Regions from separate parts of the Homo sapiens genome. Here regions 1 and 2 are each linked to region 3. Evidence: promoter capture Hi-C in 16 types of primary human blood cells and fetal thymus (Javierre and others, 2016). All regions are on one chromosome and are shown on one strand. The core of a region is centred on a gene start or on the middle of the fragment in contact, and the rest is flanking DNA. Distances in the headings are between cores, read along the strand shown. Region 1 overlaps METTL14 (methyltransferase 14, N6-adenosine-methyltransferase non-catalytic subunit). Region 2 overlaps PDE5A (phosphodiesterase 5A). Region 3 holds the start of USP53 (ubiquitin specific peptidase 53).

Region 1 (4,453 bases), core at 585-3,084, 500 kb after region 3:
TTAGCTGATACTTCTAAGGACCCATCACAGGCAAGTGGAATTTCTCTATCCTGACTTCATTCCCAGGTCAATGCTGACATATAGAGTTCTAAATCTAGATAATTTGTAATTAGTGAAGTTGAAAATATACCATAATTTCAGCAAAAAAAAAGGGGTCTTGTACTAGATAGTACTAATGGGTTAAGCGAGTTAAATTAATTAGGCTTTTAAGGATCTCAGCCTTATTTCTTCTATCACTCATTCCTTATCTTCAAACTGAGTCTTTGGTGGATGTAATATAATCTCATCTTAGGTATATATGAGCACAGAACGGCCATTAAAATCCATCACAGACCAAAAGAAGAGACTGATTTTAGGTCAGTCCTTTTTCATTTTGTAACAACAGTAATTCTACTTATAGAAAACAGACTCTCAAATCTCAAAAGTTTAAAGTTTCATTAGAAAAATCATAAAAATAAGAAAAGTATTCATCAAGAATGATAATAGTATAATTTCATTATCAAATTCATTTAAAACATGAATTACAGTACAGCAAGAGAAGTGACAGCATAAAGTCTTATATAATTTTAAAAACAAACATCACACCATATGGTTTTAATAAAAGGCAATTGCAGTTCCAATTTCCAAGCTGTATCCTTAAGTTGAGGGTTTTCCGTAGTTGGTTTTACATTAAACTATCTCCATAACAAGTTTAAAGGTGTATGTCATTTCATCACCAAGTATTTTAGTCCCAAAATGTATAAACCAAGCATCTGATAATGAGGTATCTTGTCGCTGCCTCTCTTTTATTTGAGGAATATAAAATTTAAGGTCAATCCAAGTTCAAGTCCACACCACAGTGCTATCTAGCACATGAATATTTGTCCTCCTTTGCTTCTTAGGAAGCGTGATTAGGAGTCATAGCCACAAAATTGAGATTATGATGATAAACTTTTTTTTTTTTTTTAAGTCTGCCTGCTAAGTTCTATCTCTTCTTTCACCCACCCCTGGAATCTCCACCTCCCCTATCAAATTTAGATTTGGGAAGAGTTTTTGTTCAAAGTCTCTTAATTTCTTCAGTATTCAAATTATATCTGAGTTTATTTAAAACTTAAAAAAAAAGAAGAAAAAAGCTTACCTCTTTTTATTGTTTCATCAAGAAAATGTTAAAACCCTGACAAAAGCTTACCATCTTTTCCAACTCTATTCTATCAAGGCCCTGTCAGCACTAGCATGATACCACAGACTGGATCTTTTTCCATTATTTATTCCCAAAAATTAGCAAAATCCTTTGTAATTAGCTGAAGTCTATCAGAATAAATTCAGTCTCTGAAGATGAAGCTACTTGAGTTGTTCCATTCTGTTCACGCACATAACAAAAGGCAGAATCATTCATTTATCCTGAAAAAAACCAGACAGTGTGTGTGACAACTGCAAGCAAGGCTCGCTAAGACATTCTTGCAGCTCAGAGAAATTAAAGCAAAGTGCAAGCTGGAAGTGAGTTCTAAAGTTAAGTCTCCCACTTGAAATTTAATTACAATAAAGAAGGTTAGAGGAGGATGAATAGGTTCAATGTCTTCAACAATTATCGAGGTGGAAAGCCACCTCTGTGTGCTCCTCCACGGCCCCCTCTAAAGCCACCTCTTTCTCCTCGGAAGTTAGATCTATTTCTTTCTCGTCCACGGCCAGCAGAAGTTCCACCTCTTCCTCCACCTCTGGGAGCTCCACCTCCTCGGTCAGATTTAGATTTGGGAGGAGGCGATTTTGGTCGAAGTCTCTCAATTTCTTCTGTACAACCAGTCAAGTAGGAATTAGGAGCACTGAAATAGGATGCATATGTTTCTGCATTGTAGTTGCTATTTGTAAGCGTTGGTCCAACTGTGAGCCAGCCTGAAATGGAGGAAAAAAAGATTATACTTTTTATTTGCAATTCTCTCTTATTAATTCTTTAGAAGCTAGTTCAAATCCCCAATGCATTCTTAAAGATGTCCCCATCATTCATCCAATACTGATCTCTTTTACAGAATGGCACTTAATTGTGGTCATGTTTTAAAGATTTCACAGGTATATATCTTGTTTCTCCTCCTAGATTGTAACTTTTGTAATATATCCTCCTCATCCACGTACTATCTTTTGTGAGAATAGAACTTAGAGAAAAAAAATCCCATACATTACACTGAGTTTGGGTTTAGTGAAACTGTAATAAATTATATATAATCTTCCTATTTATGTAAATGGTGCCATTTTCTGATTAAAATCTTGGAACCAACTTTTGCTCTACACTTGCTAACTAGAAAATATTCTCAGTTGATAGGTCTGAGAAATTCAACCACTACCATGTTACTCCCACTCATTCCTATCTTTCCATTTCTGCTGCCACCCTCAAATTTAAGCCTTTATTTTTTTTTACAAGGTCAATACCCTACCATATAACACATGTGTAACAGACACACATATATACTGTAATGATCTCCCAACCTATAGCTTCTCCTCCCTCTAAAAGTGGAAAGCCTAAAGCAAAGCTTAAAACATGTCACTTCTCTGCTCAAAAACCTTCCAACTGTTTCCACAAAGCCCAAATTCATAAATATAAAATCTAAGATCTTTTACAATGATGGCTGAATGAACTTTCCAATAACATTTCTCATTAATGCTTTTCATGAACCTCTAAGGAAAACAATGAACTACTATAGTAACTGCTTCTATACTAACCCCGATTTTTGTGCCCATATTATTTTCTTTTCTATCCTGTCAACCTGTTAAAAATCCCACCCTTCAACATCCAATTCAAATATATTTCTTACATGAAATGAAAATTATTTCTTCTTTCTCAGAATTTCCACTGCACATTATACTTCTGTAGGTAAACAGCTATTTTGCCAATTATATTGCTAGACAACTTTTCTTGTAATAAGGATATTTTCTGATTGATTAAACTGTCTTTAGAATGGAAGGAACTACAAATACCCAATACAGACACGGTGCTCTGGGGTTCTTTGGGTGTGGTGACTCTTACAGACATGCCCTTTGTAGGGGACCCTGAAAATATGCCTCTGGAGCATTATAAGAGACACAGCATTATTTGGGACAGGTCCAATTATCTGTAAGAATTAGGTTATTTATCTGCAAAGTTAGGTTTATAATATATCTGCCCCATCATCCTTAGGTTATTTCTTAGAAAAGTAGATGCATCATAAAAAGCTATAAAATGAAAAATATTTCACTAGGATCACATTCTAAAATACAGTAGCCATTTCTGTACAATACTTAGTTCATTGTTTTTTAAAACATTTTTAGTTTCTAAAAGTGCATGAATACAGTAAGATTTGTAATAGTTGAAGAAAAAAAGGTTAATTATACTGTGTCTTTTATGTATTACCTGGCAGATACCATGATCAAGAGCACATTCCACACCTATGGGCTCTCACTGACTATTAAACCTATGAGATTTTTATTTGCTGCCTTCTAGTTTGTTTTTTGGCATGTTTGTGGTATTATGGAAGATAATATTCAATATATGTGGAACACAACACCACAAACAAGGAATAAGAAACAGAAAATTTAAAGATATAATAAAAATAACTAATACTCTGTCTCCCTTGCTATACTGTCTCTTACGTAAAACATGGAAATCCTTGCAGAGTAAACTGGCTATAGAAGTCCAAGGGATTCCCCTCTCTTCCAAATTCTGCACAGCAACATTGTGTTTTATCAGAAATTCTAAAGGTATTACTAAGAACAGAGTAAGTTTAAAATAGTCTGGCTTGGGTGTGTGGTGGCTCACACTTGTAATCCCAGCAATTTGGAGGCCAAGGCGGGCGATCACTTGGGGTCAGGAGTTCGAGACCAGCTTGGCCAACATGGTGAAACATCATCTCTACTAAAAATACAAAAAATTAGCCAGGTGTGGTGGCACACGCCTGCAGTCCCAGCTACTCAGGAGGCTGAATCACTTGAACCTGGGAGGCGGGGGTTGCAGTGAGCCAAGATCGTGCCACTGCACTCCAGCCTGAACAAGAGTGAGAACCTGTCTCAAAAAAAAAAAAAAATTGTCTGGCTTCAGAGTGTATTTGACTCACATAGTTATCTGTAAATTTTATTTTAAAGCAATGGTAAATTGTATTCCTAAGGTATATGTGAAATACCTTAGGCTATGTCCTTGAGGAAGAAGTGTGTTTGAGGAGCAACTTAATAAACTAAGGTCTTTTTTTTTTTTTTTTTTTTGAGACAGGGTCTTATTCTGTCACCCTGGCTGGAGTACAGTGGCACAATCTCGGCTCACTGCAACCTCTGCCTCCCAGGTTCAAGTGATTCTTCTGCCTCAGCCTCCCAAGTAGCTGGGATTACAGGCACACACCACCACACCCAGCTAATTTTTGTATTTTTAGTAGAGACAGGGTTTCACCATGTTGCCCAGGCTGGTCTCAAACTCCTGACCTCAAGTGATCTGCCCACCCTGGCCTCCCAAAGTGCT
Region 2 (4,105 bases), core at 998-3,497, 290 kb before region 3:
CCCAATACCATTTTTTCACAAAATCCATGTTATTTTTAGTGTACGGTTTTTCAGAACTGAAATTTCTCAGGAATGTATATGTCATGTTATAGTAGGAACATCTGTACTTTTGCTATCTGTGTGTTTCCACTAAAACTTTCATTTCAGTATCCCACTACAAATTTAGCTCCAAAGAAAGAAAATATGCTTTTTTAAAAGCATATTTTACAGTATTCCTATCAACTGACCTGTTACTATATAACTTATTATGTAATATGTTGTTACTTAATATATAAGGAATCTGATTATCTATATGGCTGGCTCAAATTATAAGACCTATCTATATATTCTATCTTTGTAAGCATAATTACACAAGAAATTATATCCTCAGCTTTTGAGAGTAAAAAATAAAAATATAGCACCAAAAGACATTTCATCTTCCACTTGAAATTGTTTTATCTTAAAGTAAGTATCAGAAGGTATTTTCTGAATAGTTTTCTGTTTAGCCTAGAATCTAAAATGATTTAGTATTTAAAAATAATGTTTATGGTTGTAATTATAGATTATTGTCATTAATTAGATCCATGCCACAATTTCAGCATCTAGTTATCCTTTAATCAATGTGTTTTGGCCCCAGCCTAACATACCCAGAAGTTCTCCTGTCTTCATAACAAATCCCTTGCCTTCAGATCTCATTCCTAAGCGTCTGGGTTTTTTCTTGGCCCTAAGATATAGGAAGCACATCTGACTCAACTTACAGATGTTGTTTTGATTGTATTCTGAGTGCATGGTCTGTGTATTTTACTTAGTTCAAGATTAGAGAACCACTATGCTTTAAATTACAGATAAGAAATAAAAAATGGTTACATAGTGAAAACTTTGAATGATTTGCACATGGATTAGCTACCTTTTAAATATTCCTTATAGATGTTTCAACCCACGCTTTCTTTCACCACTGACCAGTAAGCACCCTTTGGCTCATGCCCTTTACCCATCTATATTAAGATGTTCCTAAGGAATATGCACTGTTATCATAACTGACCAAGTTAAAATTATATAAATTTGCACCAGAAATGTTACTGGATTTATTTAAAATGCCATAGAGAAGTTTAAAAATTTTACCACTTCTTTCTTCATATCCATTAATATGGCTTTTTTTTCAAAGTTTTACATGCTGTTAAATTATAGCGATTAGTCTGCCCTACGGAAAAGGATAGCTATTAGATTTTAAGTCTGGACTAAGGCTTAAGGAGTATAAGAGTTGGAAAAACATGCATATGTAGGCAGATGAAGCATTATGAAGCGGTTTACATGTATGACAGAGGGGTTGGGTGGGAACATAGAGGGGAAACTTTATTTCATGGTATTTAAGTGTGTCCTCCACATTCATTAGAATACTGGGCATGTGTTTAAGATATGTGAATATATTTCTAGATTTTGTTCTTGTCAGCAGCTTCTCCAGGATGTTAATACTGGTTTTCTTTTTTTATAAAGGGCAATCAGATTCTCAGTGGCCTCTCCATTGAAGAATATAAGACCACGTTGAAAATAATCAAGCAAGCTATTTTAGCTACAGACCTAGCACTGTACATTAAGTAAGTTTTAAGAAATAACCTGAGAAATAGGTATTTGAAGTCTTTTCATTGTTTCAAACTTTTGACATCCATATTGAGAAATTTCAAAGCAGAAATGTCCTGGCAAAACTGCTTATCAGAATACGGAGCAGTTTCTGAAAGGGTAGCCAGAAAAGTCTACTCCTTTGGCTTATACTGCTGAAAATTAAGAATACCTATTATTTCTGATGTTTATCTACCACTGTGTCTCTGAAACTATATACAAATCTAATAGCCATCTCAAGGTCAGTCATTCCAAGCCATGTTGTCCAAAGATTATATAGATCATTTGCTTTTCCTCCTTTCCCTTGCTCCCCACAACTTCTGACCATTTCATGACTCCTTTATACCGTCATTCAAGCTTAGTTGGGCAGGAAAAGGAGTTACTGCCAAGCAAGTAACTCTTGTTTCTTTTTATTTGATTTTGGCAGGAGAAGAATATTTATGTAGAACTTTGAAGTTGTTGATTCTAAAATAAGAGTATACATTAGAGTTGTCTCTGTGATTATGCATTTTCATGATTAAACTGCCTTTCTAAAAGCTAGAAAATACTTTCCTGCATTTGAGCAATCATAAGTTTCCAACTCCTAGCTGAGATCTTTGACGCATGTGTGGGAATGAGGGGAGTCAGGGAATCACTCTCAGGATTTCCTTGTAACATGAGTCTCTCTCCCTCTGTAAGGAATTCACATTCATGGTTGTAGTTACTCTTAGGAGAAGTAAAAACACATAGAAAAAACACAAAAACATCTGCCAGATATCTACTGTTATACATCTAGAAGTAACTGCATGTGCCTACTTAATTGGTTTTTAGAGCATTTTGAGGTTAAGACAAAATAATATATATTAATAGTAAACTTCAGTTTATTAAAAATAATTGCAGAATAAGGATTATCAAATTACCAAGAATTTGAAAAATACCTGTAACCACAATGCCTTTCTAAGCTTTACAGGCCACATGGGTCTCTCCTTTGAACCCTTATGAAACATACTTTTCATTTTTTATAACCATATACTATCAGTTTTATTACGTAAGTTTTTCTTGAGTCTTGTGTCTCCAGGTAGATATTAAACACTGCGAAAAGAAAAATTTTTGTCTTATGCCTTCTCAAAATGCTTAACAATACTGGGCACATAAAGAGGTATTCACTGTACACCAAATATTATTATATTCACTGAATAATAACAAATATTATTTTATTTTAAACTTTACCTAGTCTTTGTTTACTTCAGAAGCACTTCACAACTTTAGATATTTTTATCCCCTACCATGAAATAAATGATAAACTGAAACCTATAGATCTTATTATGCCATGCACTTAAAATACCTGAAATCATTCTCAGCATCAAATTTTTAACTCATACTGTTTCATTTTTCTTAAAATAACAAATATTCAAGAATTGAAATTACCATAATTTGTGATCTATAGTTAAAAATTAGGTGAGGTTTAATGTTTTATCGAAAGCAAATGATAGAAGGGGGAAAGTGAGGTATTAAAGATTTGTAAATGATGATTTTATAGTGGGCTCTAAGATGGGAAAAAAAATCAGAGGTTTTTTTTCACCAAAATTTAGTCCATGAGTCTTTGTGGACCAAAGGGATAAGACCCTGGGTACTCATTATAACTAACAATTTTTTTTTAAACATTGTAGGAGGCGAGGAGAATTTTTTGAACTTATAAGAAAAAATCAATTCAATTTGGAAGATCCTCATCAAAAGGAGTTGTTTTTGTAAGTAGGTTTACTATCTTTAAAGCTGAAGTTTTTTACCCAGTTAATTTTCTCACTATTTTTTCCTCACTGTTAGTTTTTATTGCAATTATTTGTTACAATATGATGATCTTAAAAGCGGTCAGATTTCTCCAGAGGGTTGTACAAAGAGTAAATTTGAATATTTACTTGAAAAGAAATGCATTTGCAAATCCAAGTGAATGAACTGTTCCTTTGTTCTAGAAAAACCTTTAAAATGTGGTAGAGTATCAATATATGGCTATAGGTTTCCCTTATTCATTTTCCTAATTCATTGTAATGGAAGTGCTGAAAATGGAATTATAAATGTTGTGGAAGTAAGATATAGCTGCAAAATGTTTACTTCTCTTAAAGAAAATCTGAAAAGGTAGAGCAGTGAGGTCAGGGTCCAGACATGGAAGGAATACTATTAAGTCTCTATGATTAAAACAGTTTGATATTGGTGGCAGACCAGTGGAACACAGCTGAAAATCTAGAACTGCATAAGACATATAGTGTATAATAAAGATAACATTTCCAGTGACTGGAGGAAAGAGAGAGATAAGTGGATAACCAAATGGAAAAAGACAAAATTGGATCTACTCTACAGACTTAAATTCCAACTGAAGCATAGAGTTCAATGTAGAGAATTAAATCATACAAGCATTAAATAAAAATATAGATGGATTCTTCTATAACCTAGGAGTGAGAAAACTTTCCTAACTATAATTCAACATGCAGAAACAATAAAGGAGAAAGCTGAAAAACATGATTAATCATTCAAA
Region 3 (4,083 bases), core at 1-2,500:
CCTTTTCTTTTAATAACTAAAAGTGAATCAGATCTTAATCACAAAAACCTTCCTAAGTGTACTGCGTTTTTTTGTTTGTTTGTTTGTTTTTTGGAGACGGAGTCTGGCTCTGTCGCCCCTGCTGGAATGCAGTGGCGCGATCTCGGCTCACTGCAACCTCCGGTTCAAGCAATTCTCCTGCCTCAGCCTCCCGAGTAGCTGGGACTACAGGTTAAGTTTACTATTAAACCTACCTCAAAAATAGCCTTAGATATTCTTTGCAAATATATATATTTATACATACATACATACACACACACACATATATATATATATATATATCTATTTCCAGATAAGGAAACTTTCGGAAAACTTTGCTGTCCAACTGGTAATTCCCTGCATACTTTGCATTGATAAAGAAAACCTTGTAGCAGGGTTACAAACCTCAAAACATCCTCAGATTGCAGGTTTTAGAAACCCTCCCTATTACACCTGTGCAAGTACTTCCTGTTCTCCAACACTGTTTAAAAATAGTTTGGTAAATGCCCCGTAAGCCGCCCTTTAGAAGCTAAACATTAACTTTATATACATCACCACTACCACTGAGAAACCACCACCCCAAGAATCTCACGAGTCCAGTCATCTCTCTTCTCCAAGGAGGGAGCATAACCATCCTGGACCCCTTTAAGTAAAAAACTGTGTGCTCAGGCGAGGCAATGTGGCTTGGACAGCCAGGGGCAGGAGCCAAGTAAGGGTATTACTCACAATCCCAGCAGGACTCCAGCTTGTCGCCGCCCTCAAACACGGCAGCAATAACATCCAGGACCCAACAAGTACAGCACCTCCTCCCGCCTCGCGAGCGCCTCCAGCCTGGCCAGAGGCATCTCCGCCAGACGCGGCGAGAAGGGGCGAAAGGGCTGCGTGACCTCTGGCGTCTGAACCGCCCAGCAAAGAGAGTGTGTGTGTGCCCAGAGGGCCGGGGCCATAGGAGGTCGCCGGGCTGCGAGGGGAGAGACGAGCTCTGGGGCTAGAATGAGAGTGTCCCGGTCAGGCCCGCGGGGGTCGCAGGTCTCTGGATCTCCAACCAGAGGGCTAGTTTCGGAGACTTACCTTGAGCTCTACCCTCCTTGCGCGAGGAGCGTGCGGTCCAGGTAGAGAAATACAGGCCTTCCACTCCCACAGAGCTACCTCCCGCTGGCCCAGCCCCGCTTCACGCCGACACCCGCCAGACACACTGACTGCTGCCACAGTACCGAGGCTCACCGGGAACTGGAGCACAGGCGGCTGGTCTCCGCCGCCCAGAGCCCGACCCTGTGAGCGGAGCATGCGCATACGCCCCAATACCCAGGGACCAGTCAGGCCAGTGACACCTGCGATCAACAGGTCCCTGGAGCCCCGCCCCTCTCCCCGCCTCGAGCCCGCCCCTCGGAGCGGGCTCCGCCTTCACGCTCACCGAGGTAACTCCGCCTCCGCTCGCGATTTCCCGGCTTTCTGGACCTGCGGAATTCTATTCCCGCGGGGATTTGATGGCGTGCGCGATACAGTTGGCTTCCTCGGAGGCGCGAGATCGCGCGAGACCAAGAGATAGAACATTTCTGCAAAAGCGGCAGCTTGGCGCTGGAGTTTGGTTGTTGGGGGAAAGGTGGTTGTAGGACGTGCTGTCTGGTGTGGTGAGAAAGAGGCTAGTTCTTCAGGAGGAGGCGATTATTCTGGTGCTCTTGGTAGTTCATTCGGTATTTTCTAAGCTCAAGAACGCGGATCCACCAAGGACTTCACTTAGGTTAGGTGTTACCTGAGAGAACAATCCGTAGTTTGGCATCAGAACCCCATGCGGACACGCAGTTTCCTTTAGATTTCCGTGAGTCGTTAGACGATCTATTTGCAGTTAAATGGCTTCCTGTGGCGTGAATGTGTATTCCCCAAGCAGTTGTTTCTTGCCTTTAATTAGATAGCTTTAATAAGTCTGTTGACCTGGTTAATGATTGTCAGAAAAGTCTGTCCGCCTCTTTGCCGTGCTTTCGAACAGGTTTTAAGTTAAAAGGTACTGCTGGGAATTGGGCTAAACTTTGATTTTGAATAAACCTTTCTTAGGAATAGTAGTAAAGGAAAAACCCATCGTCACTGATACCGAATATCTCTCAAGTAAATAAAGAAGGTTTTGGAACTCATTCCAAAGCTGGTGTAAGTTGAACATACTAATTGTAAAAATGGATTTCAGTAAACCCAGAGGCACTTCTAAAAGTTTATTTGAAGAAAGAGGGGGAAGAAATATTGGTCGTTGATACAGGAGACAAATAGGACCCGTTTGTAATGTCTGAGGCTGAATCATTAAGAATTTATTGAGCATTTACTATGTTCCCTTTACTGAACTAGGCACTGTCAGAAATAGGATGAAATAAAGCCGTGGTTTCTGCCCTCAAAATATTAAAAACTTTGGGAGGGGTGGGGGAAAAAAAGATCCTACTCTGCATTTTTAAAACAATAAGAGCACACCATTAACTCTTCCCTCCGTTTCTCTAATGTCATTTTCTCCTCATTCTGCAGCTACTTTTCTGGTGCACTTTAAATACTGTTTTTCCGCTGCGTGGTCTCTGTTCGCCAGCACTCCATTTTCTTTTGCTGTTTCTGTTTAATGTTAATCCATGTCTCCTTGAGCAGTCTCTTTCCCATCATGGATTTACCTACCACGTGTCCTGTGCACCAAGAACTCTCAGGTGTATATCTATACGTCGGACATTTTTAAGCAACATCCTTTGGATTTCACACAGTATCTTAAATATGTCCCAAATTGACATGGACATCTTTACTATAATCTGTTCCTGATGCCATGTCCCTCTTCACCCATCTGGAACCTACACCATTTCCATTCCCTGTTTCAGAAAATGACACGCAACTGCCCAAGTCAGAAATCTATGAGTACCCCTGTTACTTTTCCTTCATTTCCTCTTTTCTAATATCAAATTTTGACTCTTATTTCCTTAAGTATCTCTCAGGTCCACCCCTCCACTCTCACTGTCTTAGTCCTTCAAGTAATCACCATCTCTTATGACTCATCTTCCTTGTACTATTGCAATATTCACAAGATATCCTCTAGTTATTTCCCACACCAGTCCAACCTCCATTCTATTAATAATTTTTCTAACGTGAAAATACGATCATTATACTTCTCTGCTAAGAATTTTTCATTACCCACCGGCAGGGCCTTTCATGATCACACTGTTAAACTCATCGCCATTCTTCCTCCAGTTCCTCCACATTAATCTTTCTAAAGTCCTTGCTTTCTATGTTCTTGGTTCTCTCAAGATCCTTTGGTTCTCTCTCGAATGCTTATCTCCATGGATCTTTTCATAACTTTCTGAGACAAAATTGTCATCCCTTTTGGGACTTATTTTTATAACAATTATGTTGTACTATATTTATTTCTCTGCAAATGTACCTGACAGAGTAACCCCCACCTCCACCCTTGAGAAATAATTTGAACTGTGGATAATAATGGCTTATACTACCTCCCTTCCTTATTTAGCAATTACAGAAGAATACCCTTCAGTTCACCCTGCTCAAGAATTTGACTAAACCCTGACTATACACTTTTAAAATTATATAATTTCATACTTTCTACCAGTTTTTAGCATATCTATGTACCGATCCTTAAATGGTAGAGTTGTAATAGGACCCAATTTAAGCATCAAGAGGGCAGAGTCTGAAGCAAACATGAAAAAATGGAAAATTGACATTGCAGGACAGCTGTTGCTCCCAGAAAATTTGTAATTGGGAAAGTCACAACAAGGATTTAAAATATTTTAATTCTTACTATTTGTCCTTGAGGGACGTGTGTGGGTTTGATTCCCTAGTTTCTGATTGGCTGGACCCAAATTTGTGAAGACCAATCTCTGCACCTCACACAGGCAAAGAGATCATGAAAGGGAGCAGGCTTGGCATGCCAAAGAATACCCTAGATCATTCAGCTGAGGCTTAGCCAAAGTTCACACCACCAGCACATATACACACCTCTTAGTGTTATTCTGGATTGATTATAACTCAGACTTTGAGAAATGTGCTACCCTGTGGCTAGATGCACCCTGCCACTAATGTCTGGTAGGAATA

Evidence for each region. Contacts are between HindIII fragments. The CHiCAGO score rates a contact against its expected background, and 5 or more counts as called.
Region 1: a contact is called between a fragment that was not itself captured here and the fragment with the promoter of USP53 in region 3, in 1 of 17 cell types (activated CD4 T cells). The highest score is 6.2, in activated CD4 T cells.
Region 2: a fragment that was not itself captured here is called in contact with the fragment with the promoter of USP53 in region 3 in 1 of 17 cell types (neutrophils); the score reaches 6.8 in neutrophils.

What each region holds. Positions count from the first base shown.
Region 1 is chr4:118,707,414-118,711,866 of GRCh38, reverse strand. It overlaps METTL14 (methyltransferase 14, N6-adenosine-methyltransferase non-catalytic subunit), which reads right to left. Exons shown (of 11, transcript NM_020961.4): 11 at 1-1,869. The coding sequence ends at 1,565. Among named protein-coding and RNA genes, the nearest start is that of METTL14, 24 kb to the right of the region's middle. The HindIII fragment of the contact is 1,338 bases long and covers 1,166-2,503 here.
Region 2 is chr4:119,505,073-119,509,177 of GRCh38, reverse strand. PDE5A (phosphodiesterase 5A) reads left to right here. Exons shown (of 21, transcript NM_001083.4): 16 at 1,474-1,574; 17 at 3,246-3,323. Among named protein-coding and RNA genes, the nearest start is that of LINC01061, 96 kb to the right of the region's middle. The HindIII fragment of the contact is 584 bases long and covers 1,956-2,539 here.
Region 3 is chr4:119,209,880-119,213,962 of GRCh38, reverse strand. USP53 (ubiquitin specific peptidase 53) reads right to left here and starts at 1,250. Exons shown (of 19, transcript NM_001371395.1): 1 at 1,090-1,250. It overlaps LOC101929762 (a long non-coding RNA gene), which reads left to right and starts at 1,319. Exons shown (of 3, transcript NR_125931.1): 1 at 1,319-1,436. RefSeq lists enhancers at 856-905, 611-1,184, 1,516-1,635, 1,758-2,332, 3,488-4,083 and a silencer at 1,256-1,385. The HindIII fragment of the contact is 14,070 bases long and covers 1-4,083 here.